7 separate regions of the Homo sapiens genome follow, and all the other regions are linked to region 1. Evidence: promoter capture Hi-C in 16 types of primary human blood cells and fetal thymus (Javierre and others, 2016). All regions are on one chromosome and are shown on one strand. Each heading gives the region's core, a stretch centred on a gene start or on the middle of the fragment in contact. The rest is flanking DNA. Distances are from core to core; before and after follow the strand shown.

Evidence for each region. Contacts are between HindIII fragments. The CHiCAGO score rates a contact against its expected background, and 5 or more counts as called.
Region 2: a contact is called between a fragment that was not itself captured here and the fragment with the promoter of OR4C5 in region 1, in 4 of 17 cell types (M0 macrophages, endothelial precursors, erythroblasts and 1 more). The highest score is 7.3, in M0 macrophages.
Region 3: a contact is called between a fragment that was not itself captured here and the fragment with the promoter of OR4C5 in region 1, in 5 of 17 cell types (M0 macrophages, naive CD8 T cells, erythroblasts and 2 more). The highest score is 7.9, in M0 macrophages.
Region 4: a contact is called between a fragment that was not itself captured here and the fragment with the promoter of OR4C5 in region 1, in 9 of 17 cell types (endothelial precursors, total B cells, M2 macrophages and 6 more). The highest score is 11.0, in endothelial precursors.
Region 5: a fragment that was not itself captured here is called in contact with the fragment with the promoter of OR4C5 in region 1 in 17 of 17 cell types (monocytes, naive B cells, total CD4 T cells and 14 more); the score reaches 51.6 in monocytes.
Region 6: a contact is called between a fragment that was not itself captured here and the fragment with the promoter of OR4C5 in region 1, in 11 of 17 cell types (fetal thymus, total CD4 T cells, total CD8 T cells and 8 more). The highest score is 18.6, in fetal thymus.
Region 7: a contact is called between a fragment that was not itself captured here and the fragment with the promoter of OR4C5 in region 1, in 2 of 17 cell types (fetal thymus and M1 macrophages). The highest score is 5.5, in fetal thymus.

The regions. Positions count from the first base shown.
Region 1 is chr11:48,364,583-48,368,620 of GRCh38, reverse strand. It overlaps OR4C5 (olfactory receptor family 4 subfamily C member 5), which reads left to right and starts at 2,156. Exons shown (of 1, transcript NM_001348223.2): 1 at 2,156-3,136. The coding sequence starts at 2,156. The coding sequence ends at 3,136. The HindIII fragment of the contact is 2,303 bases long and covers 1,142-3,444 here.
Region 2 is chr11:50,211,907-50,215,944 of GRCh38, reverse strand. No RefSeq gene overlaps it. Among named protein-coding and RNA genes, the nearest start is that of LINC02750, 85 kb to the left of the region's middle. The HindIII fragment of the contact is 687 bases long and covers 2,032-2,718 here.
Region 3 is chr11:50,105,956-50,109,993 of GRCh38, reverse strand. No RefSeq gene overlaps it. Among named protein-coding and RNA genes, the nearest start is that of OR4C12, 130 kb to the right of the region's middle. The HindIII fragment of the contact is 7,100 bases long and covers 1-4,038 here.
Region 4 is chr11:50,086,875-50,090,912 of GRCh38, reverse strand. It overlaps LOC101060224 (a long non-coding RNA gene), which reads left to right and starts at 2,436. Exons shown (of 3, transcript XR_931262.2): 1 at 2,436-2,627; 2 at 3,489-3,553. The HindIII fragment of the contact is 3,370 bases long and covers 256-3,625 here.
Region 5 is chr11:50,005,562-50,009,599 of GRCh38, reverse strand. No RefSeq gene overlaps it. Among named protein-coding and RNA genes, the nearest start is that of OR4C12, 25 kb to the right of the region's middle. The HindIII fragment of the contact is 5,877 bases long and covers 1-4,038 here.
Region 6 is chr11:49,975,672-49,979,709 of GRCh38, reverse strand. No RefSeq gene overlaps it. Among named protein-coding and RNA genes, the nearest start is that of OR4C12, 4.8 kb to the left of the region's middle. The HindIII fragment of the contact is 6,886 bases long and covers 1-4,038 here.
Region 7 is chr11:49,955,477-49,959,514 of GRCh38, reverse strand. No RefSeq gene overlaps it. Among named protein-coding and RNA genes, the nearest start is that of OR4C13, 5.1 kb to the right of the region's middle. The HindIII fragment of the contact is 251 bases long and covers 2,013-2,263 here.

The DNA.
Region 1 (4,038 bases), core at 907-3,406:
TCATTTAACTGTTCCTCTTTATGTATATTTGGAGTTTTTTACCTTTTTATTAGTATAAAAATATTGTGAAATACAACTTGTATACATAATTTTGTCTATATTTTTTATCTAGAGTAGATTTCTAAACATAAGGAATACTGTGCCAAGGGTCATAACTAGTTACAAAACCCTTATTATAATAAGGGGTCAAACTTCTTTCTAGAATGTTTTATGTCAACACACATTCACCACCACTGAATAACACAACTATCATAAATCTTTGCCAATTCATCAGTATTTTACTGTTTTAAAATTGCATTTCTTTGGTAACTTATGAAAGAGGACTTTTTAGATGTCTAATGTTTTTTCTGAGAATTATCTTTTCTTAGTTTTACCCTTATTTACACCTTAATTCACACCTTAATAGTGTGAGTAAACATTTTAATTTGTTAACTGCTTTTATAATAACAGTTGTCATACTTGTTGCAATTATTTTTCCAAGGTGTTCCATACCTTTATGTAGCTGAGCTCATCAGTTTTGTTTTGTATCTTATACCATTATATTTTTATTTTAAAATATCCTTTCTTAGCTACAGATGAAATATATATTGATTTTTTTTTTGGTTTTGAAAAGATCTATGTTTTACCTGAAGTCTTTAATACATGCTATTCTTTTTTCTCTTTTTCTTTGGTTCTTTTTTTTCTTTTTTTGATGATTCCATTAAGAAGAGACTTATTTCGTTTTGAAAAACACCTATCTAGTTATTTTAAAATCTTTTATGAGCTACACATAATACCTTTCTAAATATTATTCACAAATAATATCCTTTGGTGGTATTACCATATTTGTTTCTTATTGAGCTCATTTCTATTCTTCAGTTTTCTTTGTATTTTTAAAATATCAAAAAGCTTTTTAATTTAGTTATCAAGTCTAATTTTTTATTGCCTGATGTCTTTCTGTGTTACACCTTTTTTTCTGAATATAATTGCTTGTTATTTACCTTGAGTTGAGTACTGAGTTCATTTATTTTCTCTCTTAATATTACAATGATAAATAACTTAAAGATAAAAATAATTATATGCAAAATTTTGTTTACTTGTGTTCTTTATCAAGATGTGGAGTACATGGTAAGCTATAGGTTTACCTTTAGGATACAAAGCTTGATATATTTAATCATGATATTCTTTAGTTCCTCCATTCCATTTGTTATTTTTCCCATTTTATATATGAAAAAGTTTAGGCACAATGAGACTAAGATCTGTACACAATATCATGTGGCTAATAGTCAGTGAAGATAAAATGTAAAAATTAGGCATCTGATTCTAAAAAACACTCTGTCCAATAAATTATGGTGCTTTTTTTCCCTCACCTTAAAATTATGTTTTCTAAACAGATCCATATAATTTTTCATAGTCATCCTTAAATTGGGTTTTGATTTGCAAAATGCCCTGAATTCTAAACATGACAGTTCTCCAAGTGAATTCTAAAGTTTCAGATACATCTGGGGAATGCTGCCTTGCATCATGCTGTTTTATCCTCTTCCAGGATATGCTTCCAGAAGTGTTTGATTGTATTCTTAGACAATTCTGTTTGGATGTGGCATAAATTCTCAAATCTAACTGCCATGGAGTATCTTACTGCAGCCTCAAACATTCACTCAGTTCAGTTGATTCTGAAATGTGGTGGCATCATCCTTAATTTCAAAGTGAACTCACCTGATGTTTTATAGTTACCCTGAAACAAGTTAAAAATAACCAGAATAACAAACTCTGCACCGTAGCCTCATGAACATGAGTGGTTAAAAAAAAAAAAAAAACGAAAAAAAAAAGAAACTAGGAAATTGACAGGAATTCAAGCCTCTGCTCCTCCTCTTTTTACTGCTGTTTTTCTATGGGGAAAAAAATGCTGTAAGGGTGATTGAGAGAATATCCATCCATGTACAATCATAGGAAAAATGCCTGACATGTCAACATCATAAAATCATGTTTGTGTACATAAATGAATGTGTGTATGTGTTTTTCTGTGTCTGTGTGTGTCTCTGTATGAGAGAGAAGAGGTATCTGTGTTCATTATGTCATGAATAACATAGCTCAACTTAGTCTTGGGTTTATAGATTTAGGGATTCCATCAGTGTTACAGAAAATAATCCTGACCAAAATTATTTTATTGTTCAAAATGTATGTGTCAAATTGCAATCCTTGTGCTATTCACAGAAAAATCAATTATCCAAATACCAAACTGGATTTCGAGCAAGTGAACAACATAACGGAATTCATCTTGCTTGGCCTGACACAGAACGCAGAGGCACAGAAACTCTTGTTTGCTGTGTTTACACTCATCTACTTTCTCACCATGGTAGACAACCTAATCATTGTGGTGACAATCACCACCAGCCCAGCCCTGGACTCCCCCGTGTATTTTTTTCTGTCTTTCTTTTCCTTCATAGATGGCTGCTCCTCTTCTACCATGGCCCCCAAAATGATATTTGACTTACTCACTGAAAAGAAAACTATTTCCTTCAGTGGGTGCATGACCCAGCTCTTTGTAGAACATTTCTTTGGGGGAGTTGAGATCATTCTGCTCGTGGTGATGGCCTATGACTGCTATGTGGCCATCTGCAAGCCCCTGTACTACCTGATCACAATGAACAGGCAGGTATGTGGCCTCCTGGTGGCCATGGCATGGGTCGGGGGATTTCTTCACGCTCTGATTCAAATGCTTTTAATAGTCTGGCTGCCCTTCTGTGGCCCCAATGTCATTGACCATTTCATCTGTGACCTTTTCCCTCTGCTAAAACTCTCCTGCACTGACACTCACGTCTTTGGACTCTTTGTTGCCGCCAACAGTGGGCTGATGTGTATGCTCATTTTTTCTATTCTTATTACCTCTTACGTCCTAATCCTCTGCTCACAGCGGAAGGCTCTCTCTACCTGCGCCTTCCATATCACTGTAGTCGTCCTATTCTTTGTTCCCTGTATATTGGTGTACCTTCGACCCATGATCACCTTCCCTATTGATAAAGCTGTGTCTGTGTTTTATACTGTGGTAACACCCATGTTAAACCCTTTAATCTACACCCTCAGAAACACAGAGGTGAAAAATGCCATGAAGCAGCTCTGGAGCCAAATAATCTGGGGTAACAATTTGTGTGATTAGAGAAGATAAACACAGAACCTACTCATATTTTAACAACAGGTATGACTAATGAAAAGGGTAAAGGTCTTGAGGTCAGAATAGTGAGTTTAAGTATATTTTATTCCCCTCATTTTCTGGAATCTTTAATGATGCCTTTTCATAAAAGATCAATATCTGATTAAATGATGACTAATGTTTCTGCCAATTTGAAACTTCTTCACATTTACAAATTATTAATCAGGGGGACATTGCTAGTCAACATAAAAATGTTACAGTGTATGGAAAACCCATGAGTTTATGTGTTTAGTAGAATAATTATCTGCAAAGCTTCGGTATAGAGTATATAACTAACAGGCCAAATAATTAAAATAAACAAAAAGACCTAATGGCTAAATCTTTTGTTGAAAATGCATAGTTTTAATCCCAACTAATAAAATCGAAGTAGAACTATTATTGTGAGAGAGAGAGATAGGTGAGAAACGATTGGGTTTTGAGGAATGAGAGTCGTTAAAGCAGCACTCATCCAAAATTAATGCTGTTGTGTTCACAACTCCAGGGGTGATCATTTACAGTATAATCTGGCTGTCTCCAGAATAAATTATTTTCTCTGTCTACAGCCAAAGAGGTGTAGAAAATTCATCCAGGTACAATCATAGAACAATCTTGGACATTATTTCTCAGGTAGAAGATATTTTGTGAAGCACTTTTTTTCTGTCGAAAATATCCTATACACCACTTCACCTCAAAAATGGCTTTTATTGGATGGATTTGTGCCTTAGCTAATAGAAACAAAGTAGCTGACCCAAAAGAGAATTGGTGGCTGGGTGTGGTGGCTCATGCCTGTAATGCCAACACTTTGGGAGGCAGAGGCAGGCAGATCACTAGAGGCCAGGAGTTTGAGGCCAGCCTGGCAAACATGGTAA
Region 2 (4,038 bases), core at 1,126-3,625, 1.8 Mb before region 1:
ATCTAGTCATGTAAAGTGTTAATAATAGGAAAAATAGGAGTGAGTTATATGGTTACTTTCACTACCTTCTCATTTTTTGTGTGAATACAAAACTCTTGTAAAATAATTTTTTAAAGACAATATTCTTACGAAAAGTATTCTTCTGGATCAACTTTCACATGATCTGCAAAAATGTAGCCCCCTCAAACAGCCCACAGAATGTTCTGGGAATTTCCAAGAGGCACTTGTAATGTCCCCTTTTCCCCTCTCTTCTCAAAGCTTCTTCCCAGAGTTGCCTATGGCGATGTTTCCTGCTGAAATGTTCTTCCCAAATGGCAACACTTCCATCAATGTTTGCAAAGGCACTGCCACTGCAGCCCACCAGAGGAGCCTCTGCAGTGGTACCCACTGATCTTCCCACTAAAGCTACTGCAGCAGGTATTTATACAGTTCTTTTCTGCAACCCCTTTGCCTTGTGTCTTCAGTAGGAATCATGGATACTGCACTAGGCCCCAGGAACAGAGACCTTTCTATGCTCGATCTCCAGCCTTCCTCTCCAGCATAGACACATTGCCCTTGAACGAAAACTGCAGTTTCTTATTCCTATGTCAGAAACATCTTGATTTATCTGTGGACATTTCCACTGCTAGTTTTACTCAAATAGTTCTGCAAGAAATTGAGTCAGATTCACATTAGATCTCATCTTCCTCTTCCTCCTTCTCTTCTTGTTCATTCTTCTATAACATCGGGATATTTTCACTACAGTTAATCCTGTGGGAACAAATTCCAAACTCCAAACCACTCTATATGATGTGACCTTAGAATGAGTCAGGTTGATGGATTCCTCAGGTTGAACTCAGTTTAGGATGTCGACCCCACGTTTGGGAGCTTTGAAGGCAATGTGTGAATTGACTGATGTGAAAATTCTCAGCACAATTCCTAGTGCATTATAAGTGCTGAGCATTATGAATGCTCAGAAGTCCCTGAGAATTTGGCCAGTAGTTATGTCTACTGTTACTGTAAGTTCTTTAAATAAAGATATAAACAGTTAATATCTAAAGACAAGAGTCAGAAGATCATAGCTCACTGCAGCCTTGAACTCTTGGGCTCAAGTGGGCTTCCCACCTCAGCCTCCCAAAGTGCTGGGAATACAAGACTGCACCACTACACCCAGCCCAGAAGTGTTTTTAGAGAGGAGGGTATCTCTGCTTAGGGAATGACATTTATGATCTGGGGGGGGGTCTGTCCTGCAGACACTGACCCAATAATGGACGAATAAAATACACTGATACACAGATATTCTGCTTTGCCAGTTCTACTGAGCATCCATGCCACTTAGTTGTAACCACAGCCCTGACCAGCCAGTGAGACTCGCGTTTATTCAGTGAAGTTTAATTGACAAAGGCTCGAGTCAACACCACTAGAGGGTAATTGACATTGTGGACTTTCAGAGTAAAAAGCAATTAAGCACCCGCGGTAAATCAAAGGTTAGTCTTAGGACCACATGAGTAAACAAGTTAGTTAGATAAACTACTCTACATTCCTTTGTATTTGCACCCTAAGCTCTCTGGCTCCTGCAAAGGGACTCTGGCTGCCTTCAGCCAGATCTATTACCAAAGTTATGCAAACTCTCAGGCCTTCCAAGAGGGTTTGTGGTTATTATAACTAAAACTTTTCCCACCAGCCTGACTGAACCCCCACAATGAGCCACTCAGTGTAGAATGCAAGTTGAGGTTGGAAGGAGATGGTGCTAAAAAGATATGAGTAAGCTATTCTACAACAGAAAGAATACAAATTCAGAGGAGAACAGAGAAGAGAAAGAGGATCTGTCTTAGGAGATGTTCAATAATGAACTTTGAGAAGAAAGAAGTTAAAGATCCTATTTTTAATTGTTTGTATTTGAATATCCAGAAGTCTGCTACAAATACAAAGGTCTTGTGTTAGTGGGTTTGAGGGAAATCAAGGGGAAGAGATGGTTTCTGTGTCTGGATAATGGGAAGCAACATCATTTTGTACTGATAATATATCATGACAAGAGTAAATGACAAAGCTTTAAGCCAAAGGTGGCAAGGAAATGGAAGCCTGCCCATAATCTTCACAAGTCTTTGGGAGAGACAATGGGCTATCCACAATTAAGGGAATGAGGTTGCAAAACAATGTTAAAATCTAGAGTTTAAGGGGAAGGATCATTGATGTCACCATTGTCTGAGTTACAACAGCATCCCTTTGAGATTGGGTGAAGTTCAGAGAATTGAAGTGAGTTGCGTATGCTGACCTGGCTAGATAGTGTTAGAAGTGGGACTAGAATTTGTTCCTCTGACTCACCTCCACTTGGGGAAGTAAAAACCTCCTCTCCTCTTGGCCTTGCAGTGAACTGATCTATTGCTTTTTTCTGCTTTGATCCAACTAAGGTCAGCTCTGGTCAAGCTCAGTCTCAGAAAGCCATTTGCAAAGTTCAACTTAAAGTGCTCACATATGTGTCCCAGGAGACAGGAACAAGCATTGTCACAATCAATAGACAATGGTTGGTGTTATTTTATGTGTTGTGAGGTGATGACACCTGCAGAACTCTAACGTGAAAAGATAAGGCTATTTTGTGGAAGGAACTTCATTTATCAATAAGCAAAGTGTTTATACTTTCATAGACACTTTTGACCTCTTTGTCTGGTCGTCGTGGCTCATATCTGTAATCCCAGCACTTTGGGAGGCCTAGGCAGGTGGATCACCTGAAGCCAAGCTTTCAAGACCAGCCTGGCCAACATAGTGAAACTTTAACTCTACTAAAAATGCAAAAATTAGCCAGGTGTGGTGGCTCGTGCCTGTAATCCCAGCTACTTGGGAGGCTGAGACAGGAGAATTGGTTGAACCTGGGAGGTGGAGGTTGCAGTAAGCTGACATCATGCCATTGCACTACAGCCTGGGTAATAGAGTGAGACTCCATCTCAAAAAAAAAAAAAAAAAAAAAAGAAAAGAAAAGAAAAAAGAAAGTGGCTCTTGGAAATCTCCAAGATGAGCTTTTGTCTTGAGTAAATGTCCAATAAGCCTGCTCCAACTTGTACCCTTTTGATGAATCCTTTCTACTTGTTGCATGTCAGATGTTATTTTAGGACATCAGGGAATAGGAGCTGACATGGAGAGCTTCTTGAAAGCAGTCCAGACCAAAGCAGTTGTCTTTAGTTGGTATCTCCATGTCACTCCCACTTTCCTGCTTCTACCACCTTCCCTGGGTTTCTTTGTTCCTGACCTGTGGTTCACATTCAGGATTATTTCTTCCAGAACCTGCCCTTGCTTGGACAACTATATTATGGTTTCTGTTGTTCTTGATATGTTTGCAGATTTTTTGTTTTGACCTCTAATCAACACCTTGCAATTTTTGCAGGCTTTTAATACTTGGGATGTGGCTTTTTGCCTGACTGTGCCTCTGGAGTCATGACTACACCTCCCTTCCACTAAATGATTTTTGGGATGAATTTCTAAAATGTTTGATTTCCATCTGGTTTCCAGCCTCATATCATACCAGTACTCAAACAAGAATAATTATAATATAAAGCATTTGTTGGCCACGTGAAATAGTTTTGCTGTGTCCCCACCTAAATCTCATCTTGAATTGTAGCTCCCATAATTCCCACATGTTGTGGGAGGGGCCTGGTGGAGATAATTGAATCATGGGTTGGCTTCCCCCATACTGTTCTTGTGGTAGTGAATAAGTGTCATGAGATCTGATGGTTTTATAAGGGGTTTCCCCTTTTGTTTGGCTCTCATTCTCTCTTGTATGCCACCATGTAAGACATGCCTTTGGCCTTGCACCATGATTGTAAGGCTTCCCCAGACACATGGAACTGTGACTCTAATAAACCTCTTTTTCTTTATAAAGTACCCAGTCTCGGGTGTGTCTTTATCAGCAGCATGAAAACAGAGTAATACACTATGCACTGTTTACCATCAGAAGTACAAAATTCAACTGTCTGATCACTTCCATGACAGGAGCTTGGGTAGGTTTATCATATAGAGTGGATTGGAGTTAGGAATTTGTTCCCAGAGGATTAATTATAGTAAAAT
Region 3 (4,038 bases), core at 537-3,036, 1.7 Mb before region 1:
TAGCAGGGACTACAGGTGTGTACCACCACACAATGGTAATTTTTTTTTTTTTTTTTTTGAGACAGGGTTTTACTCTGTTTCCTATGCTAGACTGCAGTGGCATGATCATGGCTCACTGCAGCCTCACCCTCCTAGATTCAGGAGATCCTCCTGCCTTAGGCTCCCAATGTGCTGCAATTACAGGTGTGAGCCATTGTATTTGGCCCCATTTGTATTTTTGAAAGATGACTAGTGGTAGTGAAGATACCAGTGAGTTGAAGGGAGTGAAACTAGGGGCAATAACAGTTCAGATAACAGATATTTTTTGAGCCCCTGCTAAGTGCCAGGCACATATCTAGGTCCTGGGAACTAGGGGAGAATGAGTAACTCAGTCTCTATTCTCGGGGAGGTTCCATTCTTGTGGTGGTGTGGTGGTGGGGAAGCAGGCTATATACATGCAACAAATGATATTTTTTTCAGATGGTGATAAGTAATTTGAAGAAAATAAATAGAGCTATGGGAGTTAGAATGTTTGGGCATTGGAATGGGTACTGACCTATTGGGGTGGGCAGTGAAGACCTCTCTGACATTTGAGCTGAGGCAGCTTGAAGAAGATCTGGTCAAGATCTGGTCTGGTCCTGCTGGGTAGAATGTCAAGTGCAGCGACCTGAGATGTAAACAGACTTGACATAGTGTTTAAGCACCATAAAGCTGGTCAGGGTGGCTGGAGCATAGTGGAGCCTAGAGGAGCAAGTAATATTCAGATGAGGATGGAGCACCTTCTAGGCCATGGAAAGGAATCTGGATTAAATCCAATGGAGTAAGAAGCATTGCAATTAAATCAGGGGTTGGCAAACTACGGCCCATGGGTCTAATCTGTCCTGCTGCCTATTTTAATGAATAAACCATATTGGAACACAGTCTCACCCATGGGTTTACATATTGTCCAGGGCTGTTTTTAATGTTACAAGAGCAGAGTTGAGTAGTTTCAACAGAAACATATGACCCAGAAACCTAAAATATTCACTGTCTTGTTTTTATAGAAAAAGTTTACTGACCCCTGAATTAAATGATCTAATTTAAGTTTTGAGGAGGAGACACTCTGGGTATTGTTTAGGGAATGAATGGTAAGAGGCAAGAGTACAGCTGAATAGTTCAGATAAGAAATAACTAGATGTTGGCTTGGTACCATGGCTCATGCTTGTAATCCTAGCACTTTGGGAGGCTAAGGTTGGTGGATCACAAGGTCAGAAGTTTAAGACCAGCCTGGTCAACATGGTAAAATCCCATTTCTACTAAAAATAGAAAAATTAGCTGGGTGTGGTGGTGGGCACCTGTAATCCCAGCTACTTGCTGAGGCAGGAGAATTGCTTGAATCTGGAAGGCAAAAGTTGCAGTGAACTGAGATCACGCCACTGTACTCCAGCCTGGGCAACAGAGCAAGACTCCATCTCAGAAAAAAAAAAAAAAGAAAAAAGTAACTAGATGTTAAGCCACTAGAAAACAAAGATCACACTGTTTTTATTCTCTTTTAAAACACCTAGCTATGCTTTATACTCATTAAATATTGTTTATTGAGTGATGAGATGCTGAATAGGGGGTGCCAGTGAATATGAAGGGGAAGTGAGGTTTTAAGAGATATTTAGGAGGTAAAATATCAGGACAGCTTATTGCTGACACAGTGAATAGAAACAGGAGGTGGGCAGAAGGAGGACTGGAGGATGCCCTTCAGGTTTCTGGCTCAGGTATCTTGGTGCATGGCAGTGTAATTAACTGAGACAGGGAAAGTGGAGAAACAAAGAACATATGTTGTTGGGGAGAAGGAATTAATCTTTGGACATAGGATGCTCAGGACATCCAGGTAAAGATGTCTAAAAGATAGTTGGAAAGACAGAGCTCTATCTAGCATGATATCTAGATTTATGTTAACCAGAATTCTAGGGTCATCAGCTTGTGTGGGCTCTCCTAGAAAGGGTGTGTGAAAAGGAGGGCAGGGATAGATCTCATATGGCATTCGTTTCCAGTACATTTTGGATCTAGAGAGGAGGCAAAGATAAACTAGCTGTGTGGACAGTTTGCATCAGTCCGTCAGGTCATCCCATGACCATGGAATATTTTTTCTGCAGAAGCTGATGGGCTCAAATGAAGGCTTGCCTTACCTATTTCTCTGGCCGCCAACCTCTTTCTCTTAGTTGGGTTGACTGGGGCAGCTGTGGAGGCTTCTTCCCTCCTAGGCTCCCTGCTAACATTGGAACATTTGTGGCCTTTTAACTCTGTAGGTGATTCACGTTTGCATTTATCTTTTTATTTTTTAAGAGATAAGGTCTCATCCTGTTGTCTGGGCTGGAGTGCAATGGCACAATCATAGATCACTGCAGCCTCAACCTTCTAGGCTCCAGTGATCCTCCCACCTCAGCCTCCCAAGTAGGTGGGATTGCGGGTACATGCCACCAAGCCCAGCTAGTATTTTAATTTTTGTAGAGACGGTGTTTCCCTATGTTGCCCAGGCTACTCTCAAATTCCTGGGCTCAACAGATCTTATCTTGGCTTTCCAAAGTGCTGGGATTGCTGGGCATGGTGAGCCTGTAATACCAGCACTTTGGGAGGCTGAGACAGGCAGATCGCCTGAGCTCAGGAGCTCGACACCAGCCTGGACAACACAGTGAAACCTCTTCTCTACTAAAAATACAAAAAATGAGCCAGGCGTGGTGGCATACTCCTGTAGTCCCAGCTACTCAGGAGGTTAAGGCAGGTAAATCACTTGAACCCAGGAGGCAGAGGTTGCAGTGAGCCGGGATCACACCACTGCACTCCAGCCTGAGTGACAGAGGGAGACTCCAGCTCAAAAAAAACAAAAAACAAAAAAAAACTAACAAAGTGCTGGGATTACAGGCATGAGCCAACATGTTTGCATTTATCTAGTTGAGGCTACAGGGAGGTAGGAGGGCCTAGTTGTCCTTGGTGTTTTGTTACAGCAATAATTCTCAGATGCAAGGGCTAGACAATGGATTAATTTTATTAAGTAATGTTAAATATTAATAAATTTATCAAATCCATTAAGTATTGTTAAATATTAATAAATGTATTAAATGCTGTTAAATATTAATAAATTTATTAAATATTATTAAATTTACTAAGTATTATGGGTTCTTTTATGCCACAAAGCTAGATAAACCCCTTACTGGCCCTGAACAATAGCTTCCCCTTTCCTTTTTGTTTTTTTTTTTCCTTTTTGTATGGGGAAGGGGAACCACAGAAGTATTTAATAAAAAAGCACTTGTGGCCAGGCGCGGTGGCTCATGCCTGTAATCCTAGCATTTTGGGAGGCTAAGGCAGGTGGATCGCCTGAGGTCAGGAGTTTGAGACCAGCCTGGCTAACATGATGAAACCCAGTATCTACTAAAAATACAAAAAATTAGCCAGGCGTCATGGCAGGTGCCTGTAGTTCCAACTGCTCAGGAGGCTGAGGCAGGAGAATCACTTGAACCTGGGAGGCAGAGGTCGCATTGAGCCGAGATTGTACCGTTGCATTCCAGCCTGGGTGACAGAGTGAGACTCCATCTGAAAAATTAAACAAAAATAGCACTTGTGCTGAAAGTGGTCTTAAAATAGTTGTACCCAGGTGGGGCACAGTGGCTCTTGCTTATAATCCCAGCACTTTTGGAGGCCGAGGGAGGTGGACCACTTGAGGTCAGGGGTTCAAGACTACCCTGGCTAACATGGTGAAACCCCATCTCTTCAAAAAATACATAAATTAGCTGGGCATGGTTGTGGGCACCTGTAATCTCAGCTGCTTTGAAGGCTGAGGCAGGAGAATTGCTTAAGCCCAGGAGGCAGAGGTTACAGTGAGCCAAGATTGCACCACTACATTCCAGCCTGGGTGATAGAGTGAGACTCTATCTCAACAAACAAAAAAACAAAAACCTATACTTGTAATCCTAGACCTGGATGCAAATCTCCCCTCTTTACAAATGTCCATTATGAAAAGCCAAGGATGAAATCAAACTGTAAAGGCAGCAGGGAAGGAGGACCACTGTCTTGATTGTCCACTCCCCTCAT
Region 4 (4,038 bases), core at 691-3,190, 1.7 Mb before region 1:
TGATCCTACCACTTCAACCTTCCCAATAGCTGGGACTACAGGTAAGCACCGTGACACTCAGTGAATTTTTCTTTTTTTTTTTTTTTGGTAGACATGGGGCCTCACTATATTGTCAGGGCTGGCCTTGAACTCCTGCACTCAGGGGAATTTCCTGCCTTGGCCTCCAAAAGTGTTGGTATTACAGGCATGAGCCATTGTACCCGCCGTCTCTGGTTCTTAACCTTCTGCCTCCCTCTTCCACATTTAAAGAAAGCTTGATATTACATGGGCTCTTCCAGATACTCCAGGATAATCTTGTTTTAAGATCAGCTGATTAGCAACATTAATTCCTTCTGTACTCTTAATTCCCCCTTCCTATGTAATTGTGCTGTGTAACATAGGACATGAGCAATTGGTGGGGGGTGGGGGGTGGGGTCATTACTTTGGCCACCACAGTAACTGTTTTGTGCCAGGTACTGAGCTAAGAACTGTTGAATTAAACATGAATAACCCATAATCCCTAATCTCCATCCATTCATGGGAGGAGCACCTCACCTCTCATGCTCCTGAGAATCTGGAGAGTCAAGGAAGGCTTCCAGGAGGGGGTGATGCCAAAGCAGACAAGTGACAGAGGACCCAAAGCTATCCAGGAAGAGAGTAGAGGTTTAAGGGGAAGTGTATTCTAAGCAGAGGGTATCACTCACTTCAGAGACTCCCAGAGGAGAAAGAGTGTGGATTTCATAAGAGCAGGATTCAGCTCATTATGAGAATCTAATGCCTGATTCATGGGGCACATGAGGCTCAGTTGGACTCCACAGCAGGTAAAATGGAGAGGGGCAAGCAGTGAGGCTGCCTTGCAAGGCAGGGCAGAACAGGGGCTGTTAAGAAGTTTGGATTTAATCCCCAAGACAAGGAGAAGTGATGTAAACTTTGGAGTAACGTGATGAGATTAATGGATTAGAGACATGGCTCAGGCTGCTGTGTGGAGAAGGCACCAGGGGGAGCAGATGGCTCAGTGGGTGTGCTGGGACCTAAAGCAGGGGACACACTGAGTTTAGGGAGAGGTTTTTAAAATAGAAGAAGTTTGAGTAATTTAAATGATAGTGGGAAGGGGCTAAAAGCAGGGGATAGTTTAAAGATACAGGGAAGTGGGAGGAAGAACTGACAAGTGAGGTTCCAGAGAGGGGAGGAGAAGAGGAGATCCCCATAGGGGGATTAGCACTTTCTTTTCTTTTCTTTTTCTTTCTAAGACAGGGTCTCTGTCACCCAAGCTGGAGTGCAGTGGCATGATTTTGGCTCACTGTAGCCTAGACTTCCCAGACTCAAGGGATCCTTCCACCCTAGATGCCCAAGTAGCTGGAACTACAGATGTGCACCACCACCACACCTGGCTAAATTTTTTTTCTTTTTTTGGTAGACACAGGGTCTCACTATGTTGCTCAGACTGGTCTCCAACTCCTGGCCTCAAGCGATCCTCCTGCCTAGGCTTCCCAAATTGCTGGGATTACAGGCATGAGACACCATGCCTGGCCTCTGCTAGTTCTGTATTCTCTAGAGTTGTCTTTACTTTGTGCTAGTGTGTCCCTCATTATGCTGATCCTCTGTTAAAATTAATACTTTTTTTTGAGATGGAGTTTCACTCGTTGCCCAGGCTGAAGTGCAATCGCACGATCTTGGCTCACCGCAACCTCCACCTGCTGGGTTCAAGCGATTCTCCTGCCTCAGCCACCCGAGTAGCTGGGATTACAGGTATGTGCCATCACGCCCAGCTAATTTTGTGTTTTTAGTAGAGACGTGGTTTCTCCATGTTGGTCAGGCTGGTCTCGAACTCCTGACCTCAGGTGATCCACCCACCTCTACTTCCCAAAGCGCTGGGATTACAGACATGAGCCACCGCACCTGGCCAAAATTAATACTTTTTATATTAAATTTACATATATATTTTTTCTTTCTTTTTTCTTTTTTTTTATTTTTGGATACCAGGTCTCATGCTGTCAGCCAGGCTGGAGTGCAGTGGCACAATCTCTGCTCACTGCAACCTCCACCTGCCAGGCTCAAGAAGTTCTCCTGCCTCAGCCTCCCGAGTAGGTGGGACTATAGATATGTACCACCACACCTGGCTAATTTTTGTGTTTTTTTGTAGAAATGGGGTTTCACCATGTTTCCCAAGCTGGTCTCAAACTCCTGAGCTCAAAGTGATCCACCCGCGTTGGCCTCCCAAAGTGCTGGGATGACAAGTGTGAGCCACTTTGCTCATTCTAGTTTAAACTTTTGAGTGGTTTGTGTCTCCTGATTGGACTCCTACAAATACAGAATTTATGCTAGGAAGGGTCCCAGGAGATAGACCCACACAGATGGAATTTGGGCATAGGTTCGGTTATCCAAGGAGCAGTGCTAAGCTCCTTGTCAATGGGACATGGGATGCTGGTAATTTCCAGGAAGTGACCTCACAATGACTCAAGCTATCACTTACTGTTGATTGTGATGAAATGCCAGGTGAGGCATAAGCCCTGTGAGCTTAGAGTTGCTACACTTGACCACTGTGGCAGTCAAGATGACTCTGAAGAATGGCATGGGATGGATCCTTTTGAATGCACTTGAGCAGGGAACTCCAACCACAGGGTCACAGAGCCGGAGGTGAGCAACAGGTGAATGAGGGGAAACTTCTTCTGTATTTCTAGCCCTCCCATCACTTGCATGACCACCTAAGCACCATGTCCTGTCAGATCAGCAGCAGCATTAGATTCTCCTAGGAGCATGAACCCTGTTATGTGCATGTGAGGGATCTAGGTTTCACTCTCCTTATGAGAATCTAATGCCTGATGATCTGTCACTGTCTCCCATCACCCTAGATGGACAGTCTAGCTGCAGGAAAACAAGCTCAGAGATCCCACTGAGTCTGCATTATAGTGAGTTGTAGAATTATTTCATTATATATTACAGTGTAGTAATAATAGAAATAAAGTACACAATATATGTAATGTACTTGAATCGTCCTGAAATCATTTCCTTCACCCCCAGTCTGTGGAAAAATTGTCTTCCACACAGTCACTCAGTTTTTTTTTTTTTTTTGGTAGAGACAGGGCCTTAATATGTTGCCCAGGCTGATCTCAAACTGCTAGCATCGAGTAATATATCCCTCTCAGCCTCCCAAAGTGTTGAGATTATAGGCATAAGCCACCATGCTCAACCAAGACTGAATTTTTTAAACCAAATAAAAATTAAGTGAGATTACCTGAGCCCAGGTGGTTGACGCTGCAGTGAGCCCTGATTGCACCACTGCACTCCAGCCTAGGTGACAGAATGAGACTCTGTCTCAAAAAATTAAAATAAAATAAAATAAAATACAAATTAATCCTTTATGACATTCCCAGTAACTTTCCCTCCTAAGTGTTCCCCCAAGCCTTTTAATTTTGTTAAATTTTCACATACCATTTAAAACGTTTAAGAACGTATGTCTGTCTGTGTCATCCCTCTATTTCAAAAGAATGTCTTTTTGTCACTCTCAGCTGGATCTACCATGAAAGACTTCAGAGTCCAGGAAGAGAGACTGACTGGGCAACATGTTATTCAGGTACAAAAAGGCTTGGAATATGACTCAAAAATGATCAAATAATAGTGCATGCATCATATGCAATGGGAAGCTTTTCTGGAGTGTGAGAGAAGCTTCTAGTTAAGGTGACCTTTGAAGCCAAGTCCTGAAAGGTGAGGAAGAGTTGTATAAGAGTGGGTATGAGAGTGGGGAGGGAAGGGGGAAGTGGAGGGATGGGATGGAGTGAGCTGCCCAGGCAGGGAAACCAGCACTGTAAAGACCTGAACAATGAAGATGGCACTTTTTTTCAGGAAATGGTGAATTAAGTTTGACAGGAATGCTTTGTAGAGACAGTAATTTGCTTGTATGGAATTTTGCCTGAGAGACCCCACTACAGTTTCTAATCTTTTGATGTTATCATCCATCACTGTCCTTGTCAAATGATTTAGAATAGGTATAATGATCACAATAACACCAAGCGTAATATCTTATTAATTCTCACAAAATCACAGGTAGGTGCCACAGTT
Region 5 (4,038 bases), core at 658-3,157, 1.6 Mb before region 1:
CAGTGCTGGGATTACAAGTGTGAGCCACCATGCCAGGTCTTATCTTTTCTTTCTTTTTTTTTTTTTTCTTTTCTTCATTAATTTCTTTTCATTATATTTTAAGTTTTAGGGTACATGTGCACAACATGCAGGTTTGTTACATACGTATACAAGTGCCATGTTGGTGTACTGCACCCATTAACTCATCATTTAACATTAGGTATATCTCCTAATGCTATCCCTCCCCCCTCTACCCACCCCACAACAGACCCCAGTGTGTGATGTTCCCCTTCCTGTGTCCATGTGTTCTCATTGTTCAATTCCCACCTATGAGTGAGAACATGTGGTGTTTGGTTTTTTGTCCTTGTGATAGTTTGCTGAGAATGATGGTTTCCAGCTTCATCCATGTCCCTACAAAGGACATGACAATGGGGTTTTCTAGATATACAATCATGTCATCTGCAAACAGGGATAATTTGACTTCCTCTTTTCCTAATTGAGTACCTTTTCCTGCCTGGTTGCCCTGGCCAGAAATTCCAACACTATGTTGAATACGAGTGCTAAGAGAGAGCATCCCTGTCTTGTGTTAGTTTTCAAAGGGAATGCTTCCAGTTTTTGCCCATTCAGTATGATATTGGCTGTGGGTTTGTCATAGATAGCTCTTATTATTTTGAGATACGTCCCATCAATACCTAATTTATTGAGAATTTTTAGCATGAAAGGTTGTTGAATTTTGTCAAAGGCCTTTTCTGCATCTATTGAGATAATCATATGGTTTTTGTCGTTGGTTCTGTTTATATGCTGGATTACGTTTATTGATTTGGGTATGTTGAGCCAGCCTTGCATCCCAGGGATGAAGCCCACTTGATCATGATGGATAAGCATTTTGATGTGCTGCTGGATTCGGTTTGCCAGCATTTTATTGAGGATTTCTGCATCGATATTCATCAGGGATATTGGTCTAAAATTCTCTTTCTTTGTTGTGTCTCTGCCAGGCTTTGGTATCAGGATGATGCTGGCCTCATAAAATGAGTTAGGGAGGATTCCCTCTTTTTCTATTGATTGGAATAGTTTCAGAAGGAATGGTACCAGCTCCCCCTTGTACCTCTGGTAGAATTCGGCTGTGAATTCATCCGGTCCTGGACTTTTTTTGGTTGGTAAGCTATTAATTATTGCCTCAATTTGAGAGCCTGTTATTGGTCTATTCAGAGATTCCACTTCTTCCTGGTTTAGTCTTGGGAGGATGTATGTGTCAAGGAATTTATCCACTTCTTCTAGATTTTCTAGTTTATTTGCATAGAGGTAGAGGTGTTTTATAGTATTCTCTCATGGTAGTTTGTATTTCTGTAGGATCGGTGGTGATATCCCCTTTATCATTTTTTATTGCATCTATTTTATTCTCTCTTTTCTTCTTTATTAGTCTTTCCAGTGATCAATCAATTTTGTTGATCTTTCCAAAAAACCAGCTCCTGGATTCATTGATTTTTTGAGGGTTTTTTGTGTCTCTATCTCCTTCAGTTCTGCTCTGATCTTAGTTATTTCTTGCCTTCTGCTAGCATTTGAATGTGTTTGCTCTTGCTTCTCTTGTTCTTTTAATTGTGACATTAGGGTGTCAATTTTAGATCTTTCCTACTTTCTCTTGTGGGCATTTAGTGCTATAAATTTCCCTCTACACACTGTTTTGAATGTGTCCCAGAGATTCTGGTGTGCTGTGTCGTTGTTCTCATTGGTTTCAAAGAACATCTTTATTTCTGCCTTCATTTCGTTATGTACCCAGTAGTCATTCAGGGGCAGGTTGTTCAGTTTCCATGTAGTTGAGCAGTTTTGAGTGAGTTTCTTAATCCTGAGTTCTAGTTTGATTGTACTGTGGTCTGAGAGACAGTTTGTTATAATTTCTGTTCTTTTACATTTGCTGAGGAGTGCTTTACTTCCAACCATGTGGTCAATTTCGGTATAGGTGTGGTGTGGTGCTGAAAAGAATGTATATTCTGTTGATTTGGGGTGGAGAGTTCTGTAGATGTCTATTAGGTCCGCTTGATGCAGAGCAGAGTTCAATTCCTGGATATCCTTGTTAACTTTCTGTCTCATTGATCTGTCTAATGTTGACAGTGGGGTGTTAAAGTCTCCCATTATTATTGTGTGGGAGTCTGAGTCTCTTTGTAGGTCTCCAAGGACTTGCTTTATGAATCTGGGTGCTCCTGTATTGGGTGCATATCTATTTAGGATAGTTAGTTCTTCTTGTTGAATTGATCCCTTTACCATTATGTAATGGCCTTCTTTGTTTCTCTTGATCTTTGTTGGTTTAAAGTCTGTTTTATCAGAGACTAGGATTGCAACCCCTGCCTTTTTTTGTTTTCCATTTGCTTGGTAGATCTTCCTCCATCCCTTTATTTTGAGCCTGTGTGTTTCTCTGAATGTGAGACGGGTTTCCTGAATACAGCACACTGATGGGTCTTGACTCTTTATCCAATTTGCCAGTCTGTGTCTTTTAATTGGAGCATTTAGCCCATTTACATTCAAGGTTAATATTTTTATGTGTGGATTTGATCCTGTCATTATGATGTTAGCTGGTTATTTTGCTCGTTAGTTGATGCAGTTTCTTCCTAGCCTTGATGGTCTTTACAATTTGGCATGTTTTTGCAGTGGCTGGTACCAGTTGTTCCTTTCCATGTTTAATGCTTCCTTCAGGAGCTTTTTTAGGGCAGGCCTGATGGTAACAAAATCTCTCAGCATTTGCTTGTCTGTAAAGGATTTTATTTCTCCTTCACTTATGAAACTTAGTTTCGCTGGATATGAAATTCAGGGTTGAAAATTCTTTTCCTTAAGAATGTTGAATATTGGCCCCCACTCTCTTCTGGCTTGTAGGGTTTCTGCTGAGAGATCCGCTGTTAGTCTGATGGGCTTCCCTTTGTGGGTAACCTGACCTTTCTCTCTGGCTGCCCTTAACATTTTTTCCTTCATTTCAACTTTGGTGAATCTGACAATTATGTGTCTTGGAGTTGCTCTTCTCGAGGAGTATCTTTGTGGAGTTCTCTGTATTCCCTGAATCTGAATGTTGGTCTGCCTTGCTAGATTGGGGAAGTTCTCCTGGATAATATCCTGCAGAGTGTTTTCCAACTTGGTTCCATTCTCCTCATCACTTTTAGGTACACCAATCAGACGGAGATTTGGTCTTTTCATATACTCCCATATTTCTTGGAGGCTTTGTTTATTTCTTTTTATTATTTTTTCTCTTAAGTTCTCTTCTCACTTCATTTCATCCATTTGACCTTCCATCACGTTACTCTTTCTTCCAGTTGATCGAATCATCTACTGAGGCTTGTGCATTCATCATGTAGTTCTTGTGCTTTGGTTTTCAGCTCCATCAGGTCCTTTAAGGACTTCTCTGCATTGCTTATTCTTGTTAGCCAGTCATCTAATTTTTTTTCAAGGTTTTTAACTTCTTTGCTATGGGTTCGAACTTCCTCCTTTAGCTTGGAATAGTTTGATCATCTGATGGCTTCTTCTCTCAATTCGTTAAAGTCATTCTCCATCCCACTTTGTTCCATTGCTGGTGAGGAGCTGTGTTCCTTTGGAGGAGGAGAGGCGCTCTGATTTTTAGAGTTTCCAGTTTTTCTGCTGTTTTTTCCCCATCTTTTTGGTTTTATCTACCTTTGGTCTTGATGATGGTGACGTACAGATGGGGTTTTGGTGTGGATGTCCTTTCTGTTTGTTAGTTTTCCTTCTAGCAGACAGGACCCTCAGCTGCAGGTCTGTTGGAGTTTGCTAGAGATCCACTCCAGACCCTGTTTGCCTGGGTATCCTCAGAGGTTTCTGCAGAACAGCAGATTTTTGTGAACCGTGAATGCTGCTGTCTGATCGTTCCTCTGGAAGTTTTGTCTCAGAGGAGTACCTAGCCCTGTGAGGTGTCCATCTGCCCCTACTGGGGGGCCAGGGACTGACTTGAGGAGGCAGTCTGTCCATTCTCAGATCTCCAGCTGCATTCTGGGAGAACCACTACTCTCTTCAACTCTATCAGACAGGGACATTTAAGTCTGCAGAGGATTCTGCTGCCTTTTG
Region 6 (4,038 bases), core at 476-2,975, 1.6 Mb before region 1:
AAGGTTTCACCACGTTGGCCATGGTGGTCTCGAACTCCCAACCTCAGGTGATCTGCCCACCTCGGCTTCCCAAAGTGCTGGGATTACAAAGTGAGGCATGTGCCTGGCTTATTTAAACTTTTAACTGAATTTTCATGATTTGGCAATTGTTATACTCTTCAAAGCATGAAGGATCTAGTTTTTGCTCCTTTGTCAAAAGGTATATGATGGGTCACTAGGCATTAGACTGGTACCAGAATGGGAACAGGAATGTGTAGAAAGATAAAGTTATGAGAAAACTGGAAATATATAGCATCCAGGGACACAACCAGAATTGATATCCAAGGGCGACTGAAACTTCAATCTGGCAGGAAGGCAAAATCACACATAAGTCACCAAGACAGGTACCTGGCATGAAGATACTCAAGAAATTTTAGAGTGGTGAGTAGAAGATGGATGCAGCAGAGATTCCTGGGACACAATTCTAGAGTGTCTTTTGACTCATTCTAGAGTAAAGAAATTAATAAAGATGACTAGACAGTTTGGATAGAAAATTGTCAGTGAAACTGGTAATACTTGTTAAAACTTTCATAAGTGTTCCCCACTGAGCATGTACAGGTAGTCTTAGAGAGGATCATTAGGTAAACAGCCTTAATAAAGATGACTTATATGCATAGTGCACTTCACTGTTTATGTTAGTTTAACTTTTTTCCACGCAATTCTATTTCCTACTACTACTCATGTAATAAAAAAGATTAAAAGCTGTTATCAGAGATATCTCATTCTCCATTCCCATTTGTATCCCTGAATCTGTGTTCCTGAGACCACTATGCCTCAACCTCCAGCTCTACCTTCCACATCCAGCTCATTCCTGAATGATTTTATACTTTGACTTAGCATTAATAATTCCATCAACTGTCATAGATAAGCCAAACTTCACTTAACATATTATGCTTTTCTTGAACAGTTTGGATTTAGGAAGATATTAATCACAAATATTAGTAATTTTTTTCTTGGTATAATCCATTGTATGTGTTTTTTAATTTTTTTTCCCATAAGTTATTGGGGTGCAGGTGGTATTTGGTTACATGATAAGTTCTTTAGTGGAGTTTTGTGAGATCCTAGTGCACCAATCACCCGAGCAGTATATACTGCCTCATATTTGTTGTCATTTATCCCTCGACCCCCTCCCACTCTTCTCCCCAAGTCCCCAAAATCTATTGTATCATTCTTATGCCTTTGCATCCTCATAGCTTAGCTCCCACATATCAGTGAGAATATACAATGTTTGGTTTTCCATTCCTGAGTTACTTCACTTAGAATAATAAGACAAATATTAGTATCTGTACAATAAAAAATCAACTATGTATTATAAAATCATTATATCATACCATTTAATTTCTAATATTTCTTTGCTTTATTGAAGTAATACTGACTAACAAAAATTGCATATATTTAAGATATGCAATGTGATGTTTTGATATATGTATACACAGTAAAATGATTACCATAATCAAGCTAGTTGACATAGCTCTCACCTCACATAGGTACTATTTTTTTTTGTAAGATTTAAGATCTATTCTCTTAGTAAATTTCAAGTATACATTACATTATTATTATTCAGTATAATCACCAGGATGTTCATTTCATCTTCAGGACTTTATTCAGTTTGTTTAACTGAAATGTTGTACTTTTAGACCAACATCTCCCCATTATGCCCATTCCCCCAACCCCTGTCTACCACTTTTCTGCCTCTATGCCTTGCCTCCAGGTCTTGTTTCTGATGACAGGTCCTAGGATTACCTATGTGTGTAATATTTATTACTACATTGAGACTTGAACATCATTCAATGTATTCAAAACCTCATTAATCTTCTCTCTCTTCCTTCCATCCAGTGATCTAAGCCAGGGCCCAAGTTTCATCTGTGACTTCTCTCTCTCTAATCTTCATCCTATATCAAGTTCTTTTGTTTAGAATTCAAAAATATTCTTCGAAACCTTCTATATCTCTCCATGTTAATTTGATTTCTCTAGGCTCAGAGGATGATATGGGAATTTTAATAAACGTGATTTATAAGGGGAAAAGACTGAAGGAAACATACAATAGTAGGGGAAGGAAGGATGTGGTCTCAACTAATCTGTCTCTAGCCTGGAGCCCCGGGAGCTCTGAGGTATACATTGTACTACAGAACTGCTTCCACCTTGAGACAAAGGAACTAACCTCTTAAACCCTATTCCAGTCAATCATCGCTGGTGGGCTCCGGGAGAGGGAACAAAATACCCTAAGTGATGCAGCTCCCATTTTATCTGGTGCAATTGTCCAGAAAAGGGCAAGGCTGTGAGCTGTTGGCAGCCCACACCCACAGTAGCTGGGGCACTTGTGCACTGGCCTGGTGAAGGGGATTTGAGCTGGACACAATAGTGTCCACCACATTCTGCGTCCTTACTGGCAACACCAGGGCTGAGGCCTCCAGCCTTTCACACTGAAATAATTACAATAACCCCTAGGTGCTCTCCTGCTTCCAGTCTTGATCCATCAATCCATTGTACATACTGTAGTTAGGATTATCATTATAAAATTAAAATCTAACTGCATTACTCACTAGCTTAAATATACTTTCCCTGTTTCTCCCATAGTCATTAGTGTTAAGTCTTAACACAACTATAAGCACCTTCTTGATATTCTCTTTTCCTATCTCTCTAGCTTCATATCTTACAATTTACAAGACTTTATAAGCTCAGTGTCTCTCATGGTGGCTGGCACGCAAGTTGGGGGTTCAGTAAATAATTGCTGAATGAATGAGCAAATTAATAATCATGGCCATACTGCACTGACTAGGTTTCCTGCATACTCTTTTCACCTCCTGGCCTTTGTTATGTATTCTCTCTCCTACAAGCACTGCTCTCACCTTCATGCATATTCATTCTGCTGACTCCTTTTCTTTTCTTTTTTCTTTTCTTTTCTTTTCTTTTTTGAGACATAGTCTTGCACTGTCACCCAGGCTGGAGTGCAATGGCATGATCTCAGCTCACTTCAACCTCTGCCTCTCAGGTTCAAACAATTCTCCTGCCTCAGCCTCCCAAGTAGCTGGGATTACAGGTGCCTGCCCCCACGCTGAGCTAATTTTTGTATTTTTAGTAGAGATGGGGTTTCACCATGTTGGCCAGGCTGGTCTCGAACTCCTGACCTCGTGGTCTGCCTGCCTCGGCCTCCCAAAGTGCTGGGATTACAGGCGTGAGCCACTGTGTCTGGCCCCCATTCTGCTGACTCCTTTTCATCCTTCTGGTCATATTTTTGATATCTTTTCATCTAGGAATCCTTTTTTTTTTTTTTTTTTTTTTTTTTTTTTTTTTTTTTTTGAGACGGAGTCTCGCTCTGTCGCCCAGGCCAGACTGCGGACTGCAGTGGCGCAATCTCGGCTCACTGCAAGCTCCGCTTCCCGGGTTCACGCCATTCTCCTGCCTCAGCCTCCTGAGTAGCTGGGACTACAGGCGCCCACCACCGCGCCCGGCTAATTTTTTGTATTTTTAGTAGAGACGGGGTTTCACCTTGTTAGCCAGGATGGTCTCGATCTCCTGACCTCATGATCCACCCGCCTCGGCCTCCCAAAGTGCTGGGATTACAGGCGTGAGCCACTGCGCCCGGCCTAGGAATCCTTTTATAACCCCTCAGGTCTATGTCTATTCAGATAATTCAATGTTAAATCACAGTTGTTAAAAAACTGTACACATTAAATGTGTAGTTTTTGGTATATCAGTTATAATTCAATAAAGAAAGTTTTCTTATGAGTATAAATCTTTTTATCTGGCCTAAGTCTCAAAAATTTTCACAGAAAACCTGGGACTTGAATTAAAATCGATTCACTGGAAACACCATGAAGAATTGATTATGTATAGCTCTGGTTCCACAGTGCAAGAGGCAAAAGGTGTGGAGGAAACAGTTATGTATGGATCACTTTGCCTGTGATTAATCTTGCTGTGGATGAGTGAACAAGAAAAACATTTCTGTCTTGTACTGCATGAATATTTAAAGAGGTTTCCGTAAAGATTCAGGGATCT
Region 7 (4,038 bases), core at 889-3,388, 1.6 Mb before region 1:
CTCTCTGTTGAATTCCAGTGCTCTTTCTCAGATGATCTATTTAAAGTGTGAATATCGACTCGATATTTTGGTTCCTCTCTGTGGAAGAGGTGCACCTCAGCCGAATCTAGTCAGTGATCTTGTAGTTGCATATTTTGTAATTGTAAATTTTTAATACCATGTAGCATCTCATAAATGTATTAGTTTTAATAGTTTATAAATTTTGATTTGCTACACCCACAAAATTATTGTATGCAAATAATGACAGTTTAAAATTTTTCCTAGTCATTTTTATCAATGGCACTTATTTCTTTTCTTTGCCTTATTGCACTGGTTAGATTCTCCAGCACAATGTGGAATATATGTAATTATAATGGATAGTTTTGCATTGTTCCTGACTCCCAGAGAAAGTTTTTAGTATTTTCTCATTAAGAACGATGTTGGCTGTAGGGTGTTTGTTAATAGGCTTTATCCTACTGAGGAAGTTCTATTCCTAGTTTTCTTAAACTTTTTAAAAATCATGAACATATGTTAAATCCTATCAAGTTTTTTCTCTATTTATTGAATTGATCATATTTTTTTCTACTTAATTTTGTTCATGCAGTGAATTATATGAATTGATTTTTTTTTTTTTTTTTGAGACAAGGTCTCACTCAGTTGCCCAGGCTGGAGGGCAGTGACACAATCACCAATCACTGCAGCCTTAACTTCCTGGGCTCAAGCGATCCTCCCACCTCAGCCTACCAAGTAGCTGGAACTATGGTGCATGCCGCCACACCCGGGTAATTAAAAATTTTTTGGTATAGATGGGGTTCTCAATATTTGCCCCAGCTGGTCTTGAACTCCTGAGATCAAGCGATCTGCCCACCTCAGCCTCCCAAAGTGCTGGGATTACAGGTGTGAGCCACTGCATGTGGCCATGAATTGATTTTGAATGTGAAATCAACATTTCATTCCTGGGACAAAACTTACTTGCTCGTGATACATTATTATTTTTATATATGGCTGTATTTTATTTGCTAAATATTGGGTTCAGAATTTTTGTGACTGTGTTAATGAGAGATATTTATCTGATATTTTTTCTTGTAATGCCCTTTTTCATTTTCTCTAATCCCTGAAAATGTTGATATAAAATTGGTAGTATTTTTTAAAAGTGATATGTAGAATTCACTGATAAAGCTACAGGGATATAATCTTGGTATTTTTGGGAGAAGTCAGGGGAAAATTTTTCAAGTGTGAATTTAGCACATGTATGTTATTCAGGTTTTGCTTGTGTGTGTGTGCGTGTGTGTGTGTGTGTGTTTAGAAAGTTGTGTTTTTCCAAAGAAATGATAAATGTCTGAGATAATGGATATGCTAATTACCCTGAATTAATCACTATACATTATATGTATCAAAATGTCACTATTTACCCCATAAATATGTACAATTATTATTTGTTAATAAAAATTAAAAGTTGCTTAGTACAAATGTTTTAAATTTGCATTTCTCCAGTTACTAATGAAGTTGAAATTTTTTCATACATTTATTGACCATTCATTCTTCTTTTGGAAATTGTTCTTTTCCTTTGCCCATTTTGTAGCTGAATGATTTGTAATTAACTTGTAAGACTCTTTGCATATGGAGGATGCATATATTTCCTTTATTCAATCGAAATATTGTTTTTACAGACATTTTTGAATGACAAAAAATAGAAAGCTGTGTTTTTCAAAGCAGAGGTCCATTTCTTTTAAACTGGCAAGGACATTAGCAAAATTCATTTGTAATGGCCTTTTATTATCTTGTTAATCTACAGCATAGCCTTTTCACTGCTGATTCTCATAATTTTTTTTCCTTATATTTTAAAACCAATTTTGCTAAGGACATGAGTTTTATTAATTTTTACACAAAATCAACCCTAGTCTTTATGTATTTTCTCTATTTTTAAATTAATTTTATTTCAAGTATATCTGTCTTCTACTTACTGTTCATATTATACCATGTTTTATGCATTTATTTTGCTCTACTATTTCTAGCTTCTGGAGATGAAAGCTTAGTTCATTTCCTTTAATCTTTTTTATTTTCTAGTACTTGCATTTAAAGCTATATATTTCTCTCTGAGCAATTCTTTAGCTGCATCTAGTATTTTTTTTTGTTTGTTTTTACCACCTTTAAGTTAAAATTCATTAAAAATTTTTCATTGGCACTTCTTTAATATATGAATAATTTAGAATTGTGTTGCTTGATTTGTAAATAATTGGGGGATGTTTAGTTATACTTTTGTTATAAATTTTTAGTTGAAGCTTACTATTATCAGATATGTGTTCTGTATGGTTTAGTCCTTTGAAATGTATTGCATCTTGTACTGTGGCCCAGTGTATTTTCTATTGTGGTGTACATTCCATGAGCACTTAGAGATAAGTAGAATAATCCTACATTTGTTTTCTCTTTCCCCACTCCCTTACTAATACACCTTCAGCTAACCTGACTGAAACTGTGTGATAAACTGATGACTTTTTAGGGAAGAACATTGCTTTATTTGCATTCAAATAAAGTTTTCTTGATTTGTTCTGAAGTTAACGTTTATCATCTTCTGGGAGTGAGTTCAGATGCCATCTGCAATGCCACAGATAAACCTTTCACAGTTGAGTTTAAACTTGAGTCTAGTTATAGGTCTAGAAGCAAAGAGGGATGATGAAGATGGGTCTTGAGGGAAATCAACATTGTTTTGCTGGGGAACTGCTTCAGGGAAGGACATATAATTTCCTCAGGCAATGCAAGGTTAAACCTTCAGTAGGGGTGAAGAGGTTTCTTCTGCTAAGGGTGAAGGAAAGGCTCTACTCGAGGTGGGGAGGCCTCTTCCGCTGGCAAAGTAGGCTTATCTTTTCTCTGTTCAATCTTCTGAGTATCCTCCTTCTGAAGCAGAAACATAGTTTCATCCATGACTCTTTTCTCTCTAATCTTCATCCTATATCAAGTTATTTTCCTTAAAATTCATTAATGTATCTTAAACTGTCTCTATTACTCTGTGTTAGTTTGGGTTTCTTAGATGCAGATCTGAGATTGAGAATTTTTACAAAAGTGATTTATAAGGAGAAGAGTTTGAGGGAAGCTAACTATGGTAGAGGGAAGAAAGGACATGATCTCAACTGGAGTCAGGCTTCAGATGTCAGGCTTCAGATGTGGTCTCAATTGAAGTCTGCCTTGAGTCTGGAGCCATTGAAGCTCTGGAGGATACATCGTATTATACAACAACCTTTTAAACTTTCGTGTCTGTTAGTCATTGGCCACTGCTGGGCCTTGACAGTGGGCATAATCTTCTGAGTGTGGCACCTCCCATTTTCTGTGGTGCAATTGTCCAGGGAAGGGTGGGGCTGTGAGCTGTTAGCAGCCCAGACACAGCAGGTGGGGCATGAGTTCACTTACCAGGCAAAAGGCATTTGAGCTGGATGCAACAGTGTCCCTAACACTCGGCATCTCTTGGGAGTCACCAAAGTTCAGACCCCCATTTATTCACACTTAAATCATTATAATTACCTCCTGGTTGCTCTTCTCTTTGGAGGCTTGACCCTTCAATCCATTTTCCATACTGTAGCTAGAGTTATCCTTCCCAAAACAAATCCAACTACATTTCTTGCTAGTTTAAAAGTACTTTCACTATTTTCTCCATGGTACTTAGTATTTAGTTTTAACAGAATTATGAGACCCTTTTTGATCTTACCAAGATCCTACTTTACAGCTCCATGTCTTGTATTTTCCCTTTTACAATCTCGGTATCCTACACCAGCACACAATGGGGGTTCAATAAATAATTGTTGAATTAATAGATAAATTGATAATTACAGTGATAGTGAATTGTTTGGGTTTCCTGCTGATTGTTTCTCACCTTCTGGCCTTTGTTACTTATTTCCTCTCATAGATGCACTCTTAGCTCAACCTTGTGCCTACTCATTCTGCGGACTCTTTTTCTCCCTTTGGCTTCTGTTTTTTTTTTTTTTCTTTCTTTCTTTTTCTTTTTTGAGACAGAGTCTTGTTCCGTCAGCCAGGCTGGAGTGCAGTGGCGAGATCTTGGTTCACTGA